Regions from separate parts of the Homo sapiens genome. Here region 2 is linked to region 1. Evidence: promoter capture Hi-C in 16 types of primary human blood cells and fetal thymus (Javierre and others, 2016). All regions are on one chromosome and are shown on one strand. Each heading gives the region's core, a stretch centred on a gene start or on the middle of the fragment in contact. The rest is flanking DNA. Distances are from core to core; before and after follow the strand shown.

Evidence for each region. Contacts are between HindIII fragments. The CHiCAGO score rates a contact against its expected background, and 5 or more counts as called.
Region 2: a fragment that was not itself captured here is called in contact with the fragment with the promoter of L3MBTL4 in region 1 in 2 of 17 cell types (M2 macrophages and M0 macrophages); the score reaches 6.0 in M2 macrophages.

What each region holds. Positions count from the first base shown.
Region 1 is chr18:6,413,613-6,416,237 of GRCh38, reverse strand. L3MBTL4 (L3MBTL histone methyl-lysine binding protein 4) reads left to right here and starts at 1,327. Exons shown (of 19, transcript NM_001330559.2): 1 at 1,327-1,437. RefSeq lists a silencer at 1,285-1,824. The HindIII fragment of the contact is 5,527 bases long and covers 1-2,625 here.
Region 2 is chr18:5,911,957-5,914,581 of GRCh38, reverse strand. MIR3976HG (MIR3976 host gene) reads right to left here. Exons shown (of 10, transcript NR_172496.1): 10 at 175-474. The region is part of intron 1 of LOC121725015 (a long non-coding RNA gene); the gene reads right to left. Among named protein-coding and RNA genes, the nearest start is that of TMEM200C, 18 kb to the right of the region's middle. The HindIII fragment of the contact is 4,191 bases long and covers 1-2,625 here.

The sequences.
Region 1 (2,625 bases), core at 78-2,577:
GTTTCGCTCTGTTGCCCAGGCTGGAGTGCAGTGGTACTATCTCAGCTCACTGGAGCCTCTGCCTCCCAGGTTCAAGCGATTCTAGTGTCTCAGCCTCCCGAGTAGTTGAGATTACAGGCGCCCGCCACCACACCCAGCTAATTTCGTATTTTTAGTAGAGACAGGGTTTCACCATGTTGGCCAGGCTGGTCTCGAACTCCTGACCTCAAGTGATCCGCCCTCTTCGGCCTCCCAAAGTGCTGGGATTACAGATGTGAGCCGCCATACCTGGCTAATATATTTTTCTTAACTGACTAGAGCACAGAACACAAATCGTGTGTTTGCACTTACAAATTTCTATGATCATTGTTCCTAGTTTAAAAACTTCATTAGCAAAGGGGTTTATATTTCTCTTTTCAGTAAGGACACGAAATTATGTTTCAACAATGCCCAGTCTCACCTAAAAAGCAAGTTTTCATTCTCTGTTTATGGTAGCCCACGACAAACCAAAAAGATCATTTTGGATGGTATCATTGTTAATCCTGCTAAATGATTCAATTTCCTGCTGAAAGCAACAAACTAATACTTATTTAGTACCTACTATTTATTATTTGCATACTAGGGTTTATACACAAGGCGTCCTATGAAAGAACATTTCATTCAAAAGTCACAACATATAGTCTTCAATTATCAGCTACCTTTATTTGTAAGCCAAAATAAATGATTTAATACAGTCCTCCCAAACTGGGAGACAATGCTTTGAGAAAGGCCAAAGCTAGCCAGTAAGGCCATAAGTTCCATGAGGGCAGGATCTACCCAGCTCCTGTTTCCTGCTCAATTCCAAGCAGTTAGAACAGGGTCAGTAAACACTGCTTGCCACTTGGAAAGAGTATTCTTTTATTTGGAAATGGTATCCAGGTACTCGTGAGTAGCAAAGTCAAGAGCAGGAAAGGGGAGTGGGGGAGGTTGCAAAATCGGAGCGAGCAGCAGGACCGAGAGGGATCCGGAGGAGAGAGCCTTCAGACGGTGAACCCCAAGAGCTGGGATGAAGCATGGGTGAGCTACTGGGACTTCGCTGCCAGGGAGCAAGCTGGCAGGCAGGAAGTAGCCAAGATTTGGGGGAATCCTTCCCAGGGAACGAATACAGAGAAGGACGCATCTGAAAATTCCGCCGCAGCCACCTCCCTCCCATGGGAAAGCCCCGACCTCGGCGGGCCCAGCGCCACCCGGCTCCCCGGGGTGTGGAACACTGAGCGAGGCAGGTGCGGCGGGAGCATGCGCGCGGGGCGGGCAGGGGGCGGCTCCCGCGCCCCCACCCCGCGCGTGCACCCTCGCGCCCCTCCCGCCGGGCACCGCGGGGCAGCGGCGCCGCAGCCTGGGCTGGCGGAACCTCGCGCTCCGACTCGCCCCCCGCCTGTAGCTCGGTCGGCGTTGCGGGCAGGCGCCGCTCCGCTGGGGGTAAGAAGGACGCCGCCGCCCGCGTGGGATGGTCGCGAGCCCGCGTGGGTGCCCACGGCCGCCGCCGCGCGGGGTGGCCCCATCCCCGGGCAGGTAGAGGGGCCTGCACGACTCCCGCGGCGAGGGCCGGGCCGGTGGGGGCGGTGGCGGTTGGGGATAGCCCCGGTCCCGGCCCAGGCTCTTTCTCTTTCTCTTTCGCCGCCGGGGCGCGCGCCGGGCTCCCCGCGAGAGGCGCTGCCTCACTTGTCGCCTACTTTGGACGGGCGCGGCCGCCGCAGAGCCCGGCGCCTCGGTCAGCCGCGAGGGCAGGGTCGGGGTGCCAGGCGCGGCTACCTGGGCGCCCTGGAGCCAGCGCAGCCTGGGACCGGGGGAGCGGGACGGGACGGGACTCCTGAGGGCCCCCAGGCAGTCCTCCGGCCATCGAGCGCCCGGCGGTGGGCATTTGGCTTTTGTTTCCTCTGGGGCTAACGCCCCCGTCTGCCCGCGTGTCCCCCTCAGCCGACAAGTGTCGTGTGCCCGGACGGGCGAGCGCTGCCTCCCTCCACCCGCTTTCTGCCCTTGTCTTCCTCTGCGAGTTCTGCCCAGCCTCGGGAGCGGGAGCCCAGGGAGTGCGCGCAGGGCGGGCGGGCGCCTGGCCAGCCTGGGACGGCGGCTCTCAGGCTCCTGCCACCGCCTGGAACTGCGGGGGGCGCGCCGGCCACAGTCGCCCTCGCCTGCTCTCCGGGCCTTCTTGGGCCCGCTTGGTCCCAGGTGGACGCGAGTCGAGCTGGGCACACCTGGGCCAGCGCCGCACTTACCTGCGGGATTGGTGAGAGCGTTTTCGCGAGGTCGCAAATTCCGGGTGGGTATTGTCCCCTGCTTTTGATCTCCCTTAGTCACTGGTTAAAGTGCGAAGTGTGCTTTATCTTACATATGCCTTTAGAGGGACATTCTTAATGCGCCAATGCCCCGAGGTGGAACTAAATAAAGGGAAGGCCTGGTCATTGTTACTGTTGAGACTGCTGTACTTAACAGTCAGAGGAAGGCAGCTGGTCACCACGACCCACTCGGCCATTCCCATGCTGAAGACTCGCTCTCACTTCACACTTGTTTGGACTCCACTATGACTTGCTGGTGGCCCATCTCCTGGATCCTTCTGTTGGAGCTGTTCTAGAAGATGCTTGTGGCAGGCTCCAGTTTCAGTCCTTG
Region 2 (2,625 bases), core at 51-2,550, 500 kb after region 1:
CTATTTTCATCCTTACAACTACCTCTGAGTAGTTGTGATTTTTACACCATTGCACATGTGAGTGGATGGTGTGAAGAGATGGCAAGCATTGTGTCCAAGCTCTCACAGTTAGTGATAAAGTGATAACTCAGATTTAGGTCTGCTGATGCTTGAGGTCCTAACCAATGCACTCTATTGCTCTCTCCAGACTTTATTAATAGCCAGAGATTCCAAGTTGAGGATCCCAGTTTAAGAAGGAAAAGCAGTGGGTAATTTTTAGCCATGGGACATGATAACAAAAACAATCTTTATCCTGCTGTTAGATCATCCTGCTTTCCACAGGGCTTCCCACAGTCCGAGTCCAAGGAAGATGCAGAGAAGAGGCCCTGAGCTGACTCATCCACTGGTCAGAAGATTCTAGATGACAGAGCTTTCCTCAGAGAATTCCAATTTTCATTAGCAGGCTGAAGACAGGTGGTACTCCTTCAAGACAGGCTACAACAGAATACCTTGCTTTGAGCACTTTTAAATATGAGAATCTCCTAATGACAGCAGAATTAAAGAGTGGGGACAAAAATAGTCAAGATTTTTTAAAAAGTAAACTTTTTTCAGTGCACTAATTTCTATATAATGTAACAGATATTTCTATATCATATGACAAAGGAAGCTGTCATATACACCATGAATATTTGATATAAATCACAGACTTATAAATTCTAAGATTATAATCAGATTACTTAACCAGCATTTACTTGGGGCATGACTGCAGAGCTAGCTGCAGATGCAATGGTGCAGGTCTGACTGGAGAGCAGGAGTTGGGGACATTGCAGAGTCAGAGAATCCCCAGAGTCCCCAGCATCTGGGATGGGAACAGCTTAGAATGAGAGGTGGGACAACACCCAAAACAAATGTTACTTCCCTTACAGTTGTGCCCATTAGATGTTTTGGAATATCCTTTCTCTACGCTGAGCCACTGCCTCACGTTTTTAGACTCCGCAGCTTCGCTCCCTGGAGGGGAACATTGTAGGTTGAGGGGTGGTGCCTCTCTCTCGGCATTGTGTGATAGTCCAGGACAGTTGGGCCCGTGGAATTGTATTAAATCAGTGGAAGGAGGGTTTACTACACTTAGCTTAGCAAATGGCTTACGTGGTTCTCAAAGTCATCCCCACATCAGCAGCATCAGTTAAGCCAGGGGTCTGCAATTTTTTCTTTAACAGTCTAGAGAATAAATACTTTAGGCTTTGTGGGCCAAGAAACAAAATTGAGCATCTTATCTGGGTAGTTATTATATAACAAGGGAGAAAAACAAAATTCCACTAAGTTTTCATTGATGAAATTCAAACTGTAATATTGGGTACAATTTTTGTGTAATGCAGGTCTACTAATGAAAAGAATGTAATTGTGAGGGGGGACAGAATTTTGCTTAATTGGGGTTCAAAATTAGTGTTGCCTATCATGGAATCATTTGCAAAGGTTCATCTGTAAAAACTATTACTAATTTGCAGACCTTACAAAAACAGGTGAAAACATGGATTTGGCCCTAGGGCTAGACCTGGGAACTGGTTAGAAATGCAAATTATAAGGCCCACTCCAGATCTACTAAATTAGAAAGTCTGGGGGTGGGGCTGGTAACTTGTTTCTTAACAAGCCCTCTAGGGTATTCCGATGCACGCTACTATTTGAGAACTACTGGTTTAAAATAAATGTGGAAGGGCCAGAGTTAGCCTTGCCCACCCTGTTATTACCATGGTAACGTGCATTTCTCAATCACGGTCTTCAGCTCAATCTTCCCATTACCATTATTTCAATGAGTTTGGGTGTATATTTACATTTTTAAAAATAACCTTTTGGGTCTTAGGCAACTTAAGAAACATGGCACGCCCACACCCACTCTGCAATTTCTAAACAGAGGAGCAGGAACTCCTCTGGGAAGTGGCTCAAAGCCAGCAAGGAGAAAGCACTTCTCACCAATGCTGGGAGCATAAGCTCTCAGGCAAGTCGTCCTCAGTAGGTATCCCTAGATATCCGTAATAGAAGTTGTGACTTCTCACCTTTACAATTGTTACCTCAGCACTACCTCTGGCCAGTGAAAAATAAATGGAGCTACAACATAGAGGCTGTTTCTTGATTGAATTGGCGGGCTCAGTGTTATCACCATTTCAAATGATTTATAAATAATATTTTTGTAGCAAACTCAGAGGGAAGAACTATAGAGACTGTCCCCTGGGTTAATTCCCTTCCCACTCTGACTCATGTTTTTCTCTCTAAACCTCTGCCTCCATTTCTCCATGTGTATGATGGAAACAATCAATAAAACCTCATTGACAGGTTTGTCTTGAGAATAAAATTAGGTTTGGGAAGGTCTCAGCAGTTGATGAATGCTGAGAATTATTCTTACATATGATCGACCTAACAGACTGACAAGCTGATGTTGACGTTGACAAAAAGCGGGTAGAGAACCTATTATCCATGCAGTATCTCTCCTGTGGCTAAACACACCACTTCCTTCTCCATCTGGCATCTTTTAGGCATACAGAATTTTTTTTGCCACAAAATTCAAATAGCTCTTTCGACCCATTGGGCAGGAAGCCGGTGCAAACATTTCAAATAGGTTCCCCACCAGCCTGACCCCACCACTACTCACTC